Regions from separate parts of the Homo sapiens genome. Here region 1 is linked to region 2. The links are contacts of gene promoters, found by promoter capture Hi-C in blood cells and fetal thymus (Javierre and others, 2016). All regions are on one chromosome and are shown on one strand. Each heading gives the region's core, a stretch centred on a gene start or on the middle of the fragment in contact. The rest is flanking DNA. Distances are from core to core; before and after follow the strand shown. Region 1 overlaps RSRC1 (arginine and serine rich coiled-coil 1). Region 2 holds the start of RARRES1 (retinoic acid receptor responder 1).

Region 1 (6,551 bases), core at 2,772-5,271, 190 kb before region 2:
CCTCAGATATCTACCCCTTTTGTCCATGAGGGAATAAATCTGTCCTATGAATGCTGATCAGCTTCCATTAGAATAAAAATTAGAGTATTTTAATTGAATAAAACACATGCCTTAAAAAAAAAAAGTGGATCTTGATATCATCATCCCCAAAATAGCTCATAACTTGTCTCCTCTTCACAATCCACAGCCACCATTTAAATCCACATCATCATCTCATTCTTTAACTTTTATAGTAGCCCTCTGGTTGTTCTTCCTGATTTTCCTTTTGCATTTATCTAGTCCAGGACCCATTCAGCAGCCAAAACAATATTTTTCAAGAATAATTAGACTTTACTGACCATCTGACCATTACAGAATAACTGGTACCAAATTTGCCCTCCCACCATAAACAGCTATAGAACTTGACAAGATGTGTAAGACATTGTTTTCAGGAATGTAACAATAGGCAGCTCAGGAGGGTGATCCTTTGGAGAAGGGAAATAAAAGGTGAGCCCCACAGTTACCCAGCTTTCTGTATGAGGGCACTTTCCTGCTGTGGTGCTGGGAAGTGATACCCATGCAGAGTGGTGATGTGGCTGTGTTAAGGAAGAAATACCCCAAGTTCTGGCCTGCAGTGTCTCACTGTCTTTTTGCTCACTATACACCAGCCCCTCTGGCCTTTTTTCTGATCTTCAAAGACACCAAGCCCTTCTCTCTCAGGATCTTTGTCTTTTCCCTCTGGCCAGAGAACCATTCTTCCTTTTCACCTGCCTGGCTCCTTCTAAGTCTTCAGGGCTTAAATTTCACCTCCTAGAGAAGCCATCTCTAGCCACCCAATCTAAAGTAGATGTTTTTCCCTTCCTGATCCCCATCATTCTTTGTCAGCACCTTGTATAGTCCTTTATAGCACATACTACAATTTGTGATTATGCATTATTTTGGAATTTATTTGTTTATAATCTGTCAACTCCATTAGCAACATATAATTGCCACTTGGGACAGGAACCATATCTATTTGATTCTGCCTGTGTACCCAGTGCTTAGCAATTAGTAGTGCTCAATAAATACTGGTTAAATAAATGGATCTCCAACTCTAAAACAAATTAACCTAAGAACAGTTTAATTCATGCATATTTTATCCTCTGTATATTTTTCTTAGTGACATCTGTTTTTGGCTTTGTTCAGAGAAGTGAAATGTTCAGAATTATAGATAAGTTAAAATAAATGGAAATTGAAAAACAATAGGTGTGGAACAAATGGGTATAAAAAAGGCTACATAACAATCTCCTATTCATCTTGTTTTTTTTTAATTTTACTTTTTAATTTCAGCTTCTGATCTAATCCATTTCATATTATCCCTGTAACCTTACTGCTAATCAGTCACTCCTTGGCCTTCTTTCTTAGGGAAGAAGCTACTGAAATGTAACTAAGTAAGCACTACTCTGCTGGCTCCTTCAAGGCAGAAACAATGATTTATTAGTTGTATCCCCAGCACTTGGTACAGTGTATCGCACCTGGTGAATACTCAGTAAAGGTGGAATAAATTGGGAGTCTATGGTTTGCATGATGGTATAAGAAATCCTAGAGTTTTATTTTTTGCCAAAGATACATCGTACCTTTTTTTCAAACTTTTATATATATATTTTAATATTTTAAGTAGCTCCGAGACAACCTTTGAGTTCATCAACTGATGAATGGATAAATAAAATGTGGTAGATCCATACAATGGGACATTATTTAGCAATAAAGAATAATGAAGTACTGATACATGCTGCAACATGGATGAACCTTAAAAACATTATGTGGCTGGGCACGGTGGCTCACGCCTGTAATCCTAGCACTTTGGGAGGCCAAGGCGGGCTGATCACTTGAGGACAGGAGTTCGAGATCACCCTGGCCAACATGGCAAGACACCGTCTCTACTGAAAATACAAAAATTAGCCGAGTGTGCATGGTGGTGTGCACCTGTAATCCCAGATACTCGGGAGGCTGAAGCAGGAGAATCACTTGAACCTAGGAGGTAGAGGTTGCAGTGAGCCAAGATTGTGCCACTGCACTCCCACCTGGGTGACAGAGTAAGACTCTGTCTCAAAAGAAAAAATTATGCTAAATGAAAGAACCAGTCATGAAAGACCACATATTGTATGATTCCTTTTATCTGAAATGTCTAGAATAGGCAAATCCATAGAGAAAGAAGATTAATTGTTACCTAGGATGGAAAGGTTGGAAGGAATGGGGAATGATTGCTAATGGTATGAGGTTTTGTGGGGGATGATGAAAATGTTCTAAAGTTGATTCTGGTAATAATTGCACAACTCCATGGATATGTGAAAAGCCATTGAATTATGTACTTTAAAAGGGTAAATTGTATGGTATATGAATTCTATAACTCAATAAGGCTATTTTTCTAAAGATAACCTTTGAATTTACTTTTCATACCTAAATTGGCCAACTAAATGTTGGATATTTGTTGTAAGCTTGTTTTGATTAATAGAATTTAGATATATGAAATATATGTATATTTCAATAGTATAGGCACGTAAGTACCAATTTCTTAAGAAAAATGTGCTTATCATAAGAAATGATTGACATTTTCTCAGCATTTTTCTATTTGTTATTCCTAAAACAAATACAATATAGTTATTCCTATATTCTATTTCTATATATCTATAACTATATTCCTAAATATAGTTATTCCTAAACAAACAAATATAAAAATAAAATAACTGTATTTCTAAAACAAACAAATACAAAAAGTAGGGCCTTTTTGGAGATGGGTATCATCTCAAAGGAGACTAATTGAACAGTTGTTATTCAAAATCAGAAATATTTTTGAAGTAAAACTCTAATTGTGTATTGTGTTGAAATTAATATGTGTTGTTTCTTTCAGTCAGTGGAACCTAGTGAAGTGAAACAAGCAACTTCAACATCAGGACCAGCATCAGCAGTTGCTGATCCACCCAGTACTGAAAAAGAAATAGATCCTACCAGCATCCCTACTGCTATCAAGTACCAAGATGACAATTCCCTGGCCCATCCAAATGTAATATCCTTAAACTTTACGAATGTCAGTTGAAGTCTAATTTACTGAAATTATTTCAATCTGTTATCCTTTTGTGCTAACACCAAGGAGACCATTGGAGGAAACAGGTTCATATTCCCTTGCTAAAAATAGGCATCTGGCCCCCAGGCCTTTAGAACTGTTATCTATATTTGAATACAGTAGGGTCCAACTCATGTTGCCTAACCTGTAGAAGTATTCTGTCTATGGTTAAGAAAAATAGACAAAGAGAAGCATTTTTTCCTTTTTTTTTTTTTTAGCTGAATTGATCAGCACCATGAGAAGTGTTTGTTTAAAAATCTAGCACTAAAAGTTCCATTTCTGAGCTCTACTTTGTTCATTATCAGTGAGCACATCACTAACATCATACTTTGCTGTCTTCCATGAAATGTTGTAATTCTGCTGTTTTGGAAAAGTTATAGGAAATAAACTTCACAAATATAAGGTACAAAATTGTTAAGCAATGATGTTGATACTAGTAGTTCTTTTACTCCAAGAATTTCTGAGCATTACTAATTCCAAATAGATAGTCATCAATTAAGAGGTCATCAAGAGTTAAACAGTATCCAAATCTTGTGTTGAGAGATATATTCTACAAAGGTGAGTTCTGTCATTTTAGGTCAAATTCAAGTTATTGGGAGACAGTAACATTTTTTCTTTTTCTTTTCTTATTTCAGTTATTTATCGAGAAAGCTGATGCTGAGGAAAAATGGTTCAAGAGATTAATTGCTCTCCGACAAGAAAGACTAATGGGCAGTCCTGTGGCCTAAGTAATATACATATAGTTGGATTGGATTGTCAGCAGTAACATTGGAAATTTAGGTTTTTAAATCCCAATATTAACTTTTTACTCTTAAAAAGAATTTTGCTGATTATATATAAAGGTAGTCTCATTTCATTTGTCTCTCATGTAGGCTTGAATATTTGTTAATTTGAATTAAATCAAACATTGTAAAAATTAAAACAAAATTTAAGATTGCATGAAAATGTTATACTGTTAATAAAGCTAAACATAAATAAGTCTGTTAAAATGAATGGTAGACACTAGTGTTTCTTAGTGCAATTCAAAAAATGTCAAGATGTCATTTAAAGACACAATTTTGATTAATTATGCATACATGAGAATTGAATTACATGCTATAAATATGAGATTTCATCTTCCGTATGGTATTCAACCATTTTTAAATATTTTATTTCACCATATTGCAAATTTTTAGGCACAATAAAAAGCACCCTAAACAATGTAAGCAGAATGTGCATGTTAAAGAACATATTTATGGAAAAAAAATTTTTGAAACTTAAATAAATTGGTGATTTTGCTTAGAGATCAGCTTCTACTAGATGCTCCTTTACAACATGTTAGCAGATCTCAGCTCATTGTTTTAGAAATCACATGTTCATGCTAGACCTAACCAGTTGGCCAAATACCTATGATGGAGAAATCATTTCTGAGAAAACTGATAAGAGCTCTCACTTCAGTCTTACTTACCCCACTGCTATTCCCTGTGGAGAAAGCCGGCTAATTGTTTTGATAAGGCTATCTGCCATTGTAGAATACCTTTCTCTAGTAGCTGAATGACAATCAACTATACGTTCCATACTAAACATGCCAGAGATAGGACTTTTAGGCCTTGCTTTACAAAACTGGTTTTTAACAGCTGACATGAATATTTCCCGTTTCTATTTTCTTTTTTTTTTTTTTTTTTTTTTTTTTGAGACGGAGTCTCGCTCTATCCCCCATGCTGGAGTGCAGTGGCGCGATCTCAGCTCACTGCAAGCTCCGCCTCCCAGGTTCACGCCATTTTCTTGCCTCAGCCTCCCGAGTAGCTGGGACTACAGGCACCCGCTAACATGCCCAGCTAATTTTTTGTGTTTTTAGTAGAGATGGGGTTTCACCATTTTAGCCAGGATGGTCTATTTTCTTCTGTTGTCCAGTCACTAATTTAGTCTCTGCGAAGACTGTAGCTCAGAACAAAAGATAAGCAAAAAAAGTCTTCAGGGTAGGACTGCCAACATATAGGACATTTTAATGCCATCTTCTTTATATTTCTGGGACATTAAAATTCAAATCTCTGTTGAAAATGAAAAATGTAAAACTTAGTTGCAAACAGTATAGAAAATAAGTGATGATGAAATATTTGTTTTCATACAAACATGCTTTCCCATTCTAAATAGATGCTAGTTTTCTTTTTTCCTTGGCTGTAAATAAAAGTGCCCCAAATGAACCGAGATTTGTGTGGTTTTTAACATAGATGTATACAATTTTAGTGACTTAAAAAGGGGTTACAGTTTATGAAATATTTTTATTTCATACTTTGTATAACTTATAAACTATAGAAGTACTATCACCCTATTGGAAAGTATATGTTAGTGGTCTGGGCAAGAATATGGGTTATCATTTGGGCCACTAATGATTCTCCAGAGGACCTGGGCTAGGCAGTTTTCTCAATATCCCTGATCTTCCTTATCTATAAAACAGTGAAAATCTGGTCTACTTCAATTATATTTAATACCAGTGTTCCTCTGTGGCAAGTACCCCAAATACAGAAGCTTGAACTGTGACAGAATTGTTTTTTGGGGTTTTTTTTGGGGGGGAGGGCGGTGGTTTGAGACAGAGTCTTACTCTGTCATCCAGGCTGGAGTGCATTGGTGCGATCTCGGCTCACTGCAAGCTCCGCCTCCCAGGTTCATGCCATTCTCCTGCCTCAGCCTCCTGAGTAGCTGGGACTACAGGCGCCTGCCACCATGCCCAGCTAATTTTTTGTGTGTGTATTTTTAGTAGAGACGGGGTTTCACCGTGTTAGCCCGGATGGTCTCGATCTCTTGACCTCATGATCCACCCACCTCGGCCTCCCAAAGTGCTGGGATTACAGGCATGAGCCACCATGCCTGGCCGAAAATCAAATTTTTTTAATGAACTAAACTATGGTCCCTACAGGAATTCGGTAACTACTTCCTTCCTCCCTAGTTTTCAACATGATTCATTTTTATATATTATTAACTTCGTTTACCTGCATTCCTATCAAAGACCACAATATTACCACACAAGCCAAATCAAATTTAATAAAAAGGACTGCATAGAACATGATCAAACATATTGCCTAATTCAAGCTAGCCTTCTTTAATATCCTTATATGGTGAGTCTATAAAACAGAATAATTCCTTTCATGTCACTTGATTAATGATAATAATTTGGACATACATGAGACCTTAAGTGTTTTACGAAACATTGATTTCTTACAAAATGATGGGTACTGATAATACAGGTTGAGTTTTCATTTCTGACAAGTAAGTATATTCTCAAGGAAAATGAAATAAGAGCATTTTTCCTGGCACTCTCTAGTTATGAGGAGTCAAAGAGCTAAAGATATGAGCACAGAATACTTTGAATCATTCACCTCCTTTGCTTCAGCATCCTAACATGTGAAATGAGGATACTAATTGCAGACCTGCCTACTTTGATTTTTCAGTAAAATGACATAAAAGAAAGCCCTTCATAGAAACTTCTGCT
Region 2 (7,048 bases), core at 3,631-6,130:
TCAAGTAAGGGACAGCCTTGAATAGTCAGGAGCGGGGCAAACATTGTGGGGATGATCCAGGAAACCCTGGGAAGCATAAGATCGCTCAGCACCATCCAAAATCTCCCACCACTCCAACTGTGGGTCCTGAGCCTATGCCATGTAATACTAGAAAAGTAAAAGCCTCATTGGTTATGGAAAGGTAGTGTAAGGCCAGGTAAGAAAGGCATCAGGTGGGGGCAGTGAGGGAACACAAATCGTGGTCTGTGATTTCGCCTACAATTAGCAACAAAACAAAACAACACTTCCTCCACTCCACTCCACCCACCTCCAGCTAGCACTTAGTTCTTCCTTGAATTTACTACCACAGCTATTGCTGCATTTCACCACCAGAGGGCAACAGTATTTTTAAAATGAAAGATAACTTGACGCGCCAACAGCTCACAGAATCAAAGAATTTCAGCGCGAGAAGAGGTCTTAAACATCATTTAGTCTAAAGGCTTTCAAAACTTTTTAAAGCTGCAGCCCACAGCAAGAACTGAATTTCTCATTATGACCTAGGTCATACATATATATCTGAAACACATTTGGAGACACTACTTACCCTTGCTTTCGCAATACACTCTAATCGTTTGTAGTCTATACTATTTCGTTTAAAAAAAAAAAAAACCGGATCCCACACTAAATTGGCTTTATAACCCTAGTGAGCCCTTAGTTTGAAAAACCCTGACTTCATCTCAGCCTCTCATCTTACAAAGGAATGCAGTGACCCCTAGAATTGGGAGGGATACCCATGAACTACACTTCTCTTCCTTACCTGGCTACCTGCTCGCCCCTCAGGGTCAGTTCTGGATGGATGATAGACATTGTGCAGCAGCTGAGCACTCAGTCCAACAATGCACTGGTTGGGTAGAGTGCAAACCTGAGTTTGGAGGGATCAATCGTGGTTTCTTTTTCTTTCTTTTTTTTTTTTTTTTTTGGTTTTTGAGACAGATTCTCGCTCTGTCACCCAGGCTGGAGTGCAGTGGCATGATCTTTGCTCACTGCAACCTCTGCCTCCCGGGTTCAAGTGATTCTCATGCCTCAGCCTCCTGTGTAGCTGGGATTATAGACACGCACCACCATGCCTGGCTAATTTTTGTACTTTTAGTAGAGATGGGGTTTCACCATGTTGGCCAGGCTGGTCTTGAACTCCTGACCTCAAGTGATCTGCTTGCCTCAACCTCCCAAAGTGCTGGGATTACAGGCGAGAGCCACTGCGCCTGGCCCATGTTTTACTTCTCCCCAGTGCTATGACTGCTCTTATAATGGAGGCAGGAATTTCTTATGACTACACTGAAAGCTCCATGTAGGTGTGTCTACACTCTTCACTCAGGCAGTGGAGTGCTTCAAAACTGAGGGAATCTCAAAGAGGCCTTCCCTAATGACCCTATGCTAAATATGAATTAGGCCACACTTCTAGCCCAGTTCCTGGCACAGAGTAAGCATTCAATACATAGCTAATGGATGAACAGACTACCCCTGAACTCACATTTTTATACTTTCTAATTGGCACTCATATCTTATATGACTCCTTAGACCACCTGACATTGTTGGCAGAACATGAATTATTTCCATTCCAAACAGGGAAATAGCCAGAAAAGACTTAAATAACCTTTCCCAAAGCCATTGGACTAAATGATGTTTAAGACCTCTTTAAGATTTATGTAACTTATATAAAATTCCCAGCCCCTGCATCCTCACTGGAGCAATGCAGGGGCTGGGAATTTTTACTTTATTCACTCGGGTTTTGAGAGCTAGTTTGATTATTTTATGAAGGATGTCAAATATCTTATTTTATTTTCAAGGGGGTGACTAAGTGCATGATAATGCAAGTTATTTTATTATTCCTTTATTTATTTATTTATTTATTTGAGACGGAGTCTCGCTCTGTTGCCCAGGCTGGAGTGCAGTGGCACCATCTTGGCTCACTGCAACCTCTGCCTCCCGGGTTCAAGCAATTCTCTATCTCAGCCTCCCGAGTAGCTGGGATTACAGGTGCCTGCCACCATGCCCGGCTAATTTCTTTTTGTATTTTTAGTAGAGAAGGGGTTTCACTATCTTGGCCAGGCTGGTCTTGAACTCCTGACCTTGTAATCTGCCCACCTCGGCCTCCCAAAGTGCTGAGATTACAGGCGTGAGCCACCGCGCCCAGCCTATTATTCCTTTTTAAAATGGTTTGGAAGGGGAAAAAAAATCTCTGGGATTGAAAACTGGTGTACCTTAGAAATCTGAGTGAGCTTGGTTTTCTGCAGGGAATCCTGCCCCTGGTAACCAGGGAGCAAATCCTTAGACGCCCCTTCTTTAGGCTCTGGGCATTGGCTACTACTCTTCTACCTTGATAGAAAGTTCTCAAGGTCCGTTATCTCACTGCTCTGTTGGACTAGGAAAACTGAACTTTTTTGTATCTCAGACAGCAAGGATTGTTAAGACAGGTGACAAGATGGCCCGGCACGGTGGCTCATGCCTGTAATCCCAGCACTTTGGGAGACCCAGGCGGCCAGATCACGAGGTCAGGAGTTCGAGAACAGCCTGCCCAACATGGTGAAACCCTGTCTCTACTAGAAATAGAAAACTTAGCCAGGCGTGGTGGCACGTGCCTGTAATCCCAGCTACTCAGGAGGCTGAGGCAGGAGAATCGCTTGAACCTGGTAGGCGGAGGTTGCAGTAAGCCGAGATCGCAGCGCTGCACTCCAGCCTGGGCAACAGAGCAAGACTCTGTCTCAAAAAAAAAAAAAAAAAAACAAAGACAGGTGACAAGAATAGGTTGCTCCTTCCTTCCTTCCTTCCTTCCTTCCTTCCTTCCTTCCTTCCTTCCTTCCTCTCTCTCTTTCTCTCTCTTTTTTTTCCCCATAGGGTCTCACTCTGTTGCCTAGGCTGGAGGGCAGTGGCACATTCTCTGCTCACTGCAACCTCCAGGTCCTGGGGTCCTGGGCTCAAGCAATCCTCCCATCTCAGCCTCCTGAGTAGCTGGGACCACAGGCCCACGCCACCACATCGGCTAATTTTTTTTTAATTTTTAATTTTTTTTATTTTTGGCAGAGATGGTACTTTGCCATGTTACCCAGACTGGTCTACAACTCCTGAGCTCAAGCGATTTGCCCACCTCGGCCTCCCAAAGTGCTGAGATTACAGGCGTGAGCCACCATGCCCCAGCAGGTTGCCTTTTTCTTTATTATTTTATTTTATTTTATTTATTTTATTTTGAGAGGGAGTTTTGCTCTTGTTACCCAGGCTGGAGTGCAGTGGCGCAATCTCGGCTCACCGCAACCTCCGCCTCCCAAGTTCAAGCGATTCTCCTGCCTCAGCCTCCCAAGTAGCTGGGATTACAGGCATGCGCCACCACACCCAGCTAATTTTGTATTTTTAGTAGAGACAGGGTTTCTCCATGTTGGTCAGGCTGGTCTCGAACTCCCGACCTCAGGTGATCCACCTGTCTCGGCCTCCCAAAGTGCTGGGATTACAGGCGTGAGCCACCGTGCCTGGCCAGGTTGCCTTTTTCTAGGAACAATTTGATTTAATCATTCAATAAATACAGCCGTGCCGGGTACAGGAATAAGTTTTGAAGAACCGAGGCTGAGCTTCTTGAAGGACTTTCCAATGGTGTTTGCTTCCAGGCGTTTGGCACTGTTAAATGAAAATCCTGCTGCTACACTTTAAAACTCGACCTATTTATTAAATACATGCGATACTCAATTCCAGATTCTTTGAGGCCGTGTGTCTGCAGGCTTTGTGGAATATCTGGAGGTTGTAGAAGGAGCAACTTTGCTTTTGGGACAGACTTAGTGTAGTTCTGTAACTTTTGTAATCTATAGGATGAAGAACGCAAAGTAGCTTCACACATACGAGACAATTCCTACAGTCAATGCCTTGAAATCAGCAACCAAACAACGGGTTGCAAAGTTCTCATTCATTCGGTTCATATAGAACACTGGGCTCGGATTCACTCACTTCTAATTAGATCAAATCAGACGCCAGCATTAGCAGGTTTCTGCCCAGGCCTACGTGTAAATTCCAACCACATTACCCCGAAGCCCTAGCGTGGTGGACTGCAATTAACAAGAGACAGTCGTCCGCGGTATGGTATGGCTACTGGCTTAGATTTTGGAAATCCCGCCCAAAACTTTGGCTGCAGCCACTAGTAGGGCGCAGGCACAGTAAGCACCCCCATAGCAACCAACTCTGGGTACCTCCGGACAAAATTAAATGTTGCCCTTTCAGCCTGTTCCTCAATTTCCCAAAGCATCTCTTTCCCAGGTGTGGGAGCAGTCAAGAGCGCTGCCCTGTGAAAAACCTATGACCTCATAAATGCTGGAAGGAACGAGCCAGATTTCTGCAGACGCTGTGCACCGAAGGGGCCCCTTCCACGCCCTGGGATACTTCAGGGGCGCCAGGCCCAGCTGGGATCTCCCCGGGCGTCGTGCGCACTGCACCTTCCCTGGCGGACCATCCGTTGGGCCGGCAGGCGCGCGTACCCAGGTGTCACCTCCCAGCGCCGTGCGCGGACAGGCAGGCGCGTGCCCCGGCGCGTCGCTCCGCACTCACCCACGCGCGGCCCTCCTGCACCTCGGCCAGCACTCGTAGCGCGCTGGGCGAGCCGGACCGGAAGTTGAAGAAGTGAAGCGCCGCGCGCGCCGCCTGCTGCAGGAGCCTGCGCGGGACCCCAGCATCCTGAGGCTGCCCAGGGTCGTCGGGGTCCCCGGACCCCGCGGGCGCCGCCACCGGGGCGAGCAACAGCAGCAGCGCGAGCAGCGGGGCGGTGGGGCGCGGGCCCCTGGGCCCGGACCAGGGAGCAGGCAGCCGTTGCCGGCGGGGCTGCATGGACGCAGGAAAGTTGGCTCGGCACCCGACAGACACGGGCTCGGAGCGGGCAGTGCCGGCGCTCGCGGAAATAAGGCCGTGGTGGGCCCCTCCCCTCCGCCCCCAGGGCGAAGGTCTGTAGCGAGCCCGGGTCCCCATGGGGCCACTCCTTTTCCACGTTTCCCGCAGCCCCTGGGTTCTCTCTGCCCCTCCCCGCTGCCCGGGCTTAGTGCTAGGATGCGGCATCGCCTCCGCAGCGCAGGGCCGGGTGCTTCTGGCCCAGGCCGCGGCGGGAGAGGGTCGGGGTTGGGGGGACAATGGGGACGCCTCCCCGAGGAATCGCGGCCCGCCCGTGCTACCTCGTACCGCGTCCCTAGCCCAGCTCAGGGACTTGGCGTTTCCCCTGCGGTTTCGCAACCCTGGGGTTTTAGAGGGAAACTGCTTGGATTCTCCAAGCATTAGGGCTGTGATTTCCCAGCAGGTGAAAGGGGACGGCGGAGAAAGGGGCAGGCCGCAGCGGGCATTGATGGGGCTCCTCGTGGCACAGCCACTGTGGAGGTGGGAGAAGTCGCCAGAGGGCTGGGGCTGGGGAGGAGGTGAAGGTGGATGCCGGCAGGGAGCCCGGGACGCCGGAGCCAGGGGCTGGGGACGGGCCTGAACACCTGCCGGTCCTGCCCAGAAGAGGCGCCGAGGAGGGAGGAGTGGGCAGCAAGGCAGGGTAAGATAAGGCCTGAGAGTCCCATTTGTCTCAGAAGCAAGTAGGTCATTGATACATTGATAACCACTGTGCGAGGCAGATTTAAAGGCCGGGGATGGAAGTCGGATTCCAGCGGGGTGAGGCATGGATGGGGCTTCAGGGAATGGAGGCAGCAAGTGTTGGCAACTCTTTTTTTTTTTTTTTTTTTTGAGACCATGTCTTGCTCTGTCTCCCAGGCTGGAGTGCAGTGGCACGATCTTGGCTCACTGCAACCTCCGCCTCCCAGGTTCAAGCAATTCTACCTCAGCCTCCCGAGTAGCTGGGACTACAGCCACCATGCCCGGCTAATTTTTGTATTTTTAGTAAAGACGGGGTTTCACCATGTTGGTCAGGCTGGTCTCAAACTCCTGACCTCGTGAGCCGCCCGCCTGGGCCTCCCAAAGTGCTGGGATTACAGGCGTGAGCCACGGTACCCGGCGGCAACTCTTTTTAGACAGGTGGCAGTGAAGGGCTAAGATAGCCATTGTTTTTAAACCGTAGGCAAGAGAAAAAGTCCTGGAGAACCAGGGCTGAGAGAGGAGAACTGGTACTGCTAGGCACTCCCAACATCCATTTCTCCATCCTGCATTTTGTTCAGGGGTCTACCCCTGCACCAAACGTGGACCCCAGTGCCATTGTGGGGCTAAAGGAAATCTCTTTTTGCCAGTGGGTGGTTGAGAGTGGGCATGTGCCAGTTCTGCATGGTGAGCAAAGCCTGTGGGTTGATGGGCGTGGTGCCATCTCTGGAAAGATCCTGTCTTACTGCACTTCTTCCTCTGGCTGTTGTCTGTCCCTTGTCTGTCTTTCCTTCCTTCTGCAGATAATTGTGAAACACCTGTGCCAGGCCCTGGGGGAATGAGGGTGAACAATCTTAAACATCTCTGCCTTCCTGGAGCACACCTTCTAGGCAAGTGGGGCCCGGACACTCAGTGAGGCCAAGGGAATGTGTGCTATATTGGATGAAGTTACATGCCAGGGAGAAAAATTAAGCCAGAAAAAGAAATGGGGAGTTGGGAGGTGGTTAATCTTAAAAGGTGTGGTCAGGGCAGGCCTCTCTCGGGAGGTAATATTTGGGTGAGGACCTGAAGGAGGCAGAGCCAAGTGGACATGTATGCAAAAGCACTGTAGGCAGAGGGAACGCAAGTGCAGAGGCTAGGGCAGGAGCCTATCTGGCATGTTTGAAGAAAAGCAAGAAAATCCAGCTGGAGGGAGAAGCCAAGGGGGAGAGTGCAGGCCCTCGATAGGCCCCAGTTAGGTCTGGCTGTGCTGCCCAGAAGCATGCCTCTGTCTTGCTGGCTGCCTGAGAATGAAGCCCATTTCAAGAGTGGCAGAGCAGAGAGAGGGGAGGGCCCTGGGTTCCTGATGGCATTGTTGAACACAGGAATCAGCGGATCCTGGAGTTTATTTCTTATTATTTCACTTCCCTGAAGCTGGAGTTGCTGTTTCTTGCCCTCAGAGGCAAGCCTAGCACAGGTAATCACCTCCCAGAACCCA

What was found. The method cuts DNA at HindIII sites, captures the fragments that hold promoters and counts their contacts. A CHiCAGO score of 5 or more calls a contact.
Region 1: a contact is called between a fragment that was not itself captured here and the fragment with the promoter of RARRES1 in region 2, in 1 of 17 cell types (megakaryocytes). The highest score is 5.0, in megakaryocytes.

The regions. Positions count from the first base shown.
Region 1 is chr3:158,540,466-158,547,016 of GRCh38, forward strand. It overlaps RSRC1 (arginine and serine rich coiled-coil 1), which reads left to right. Exons shown (of 10, transcript NM_001271838.2): 9 at 2,870-3,022; 10 at 3,718-5,265. The coding sequence ends at 3,810. MLF1-DT (MLF1 divergent transcript) reads right to left here. Exons shown (of 5, transcript NR_104147.1): 5 at 4,755-5,112. Among named protein-coding and RNA genes, the nearest start is that of UC.134, 17 kb to the left of the region's middle. RefSeq lists a silencer at 1,895-2,112. The HindIII fragment of the contact is 3,134 bases long and covers 2,455-5,588 here.
Region 2 is chr3:158,727,577-158,734,624 of GRCh38, forward strand. It overlaps RARRES1 (retinoic acid receptor responder 1), which reads right to left and starts at 4,881. Exons shown (of 6, transcript NM_206963.2): 1 at 4,564-4,881. The coding sequence starts at 4,839. It overlaps LOC100287290 (a long non-coding RNA gene), which reads left to right and starts at 4,785. Exons shown (of 5, transcript NR_171782.1): 1 at 4,785-4,952; 2 at 6,375-6,461. RefSeq lists silencers at 1,792-1,970, 4,696-4,755 and an enhancer at 4,833-5,333. The HindIII fragment of the contact is 14,465 bases long and covers 1-7,048 here.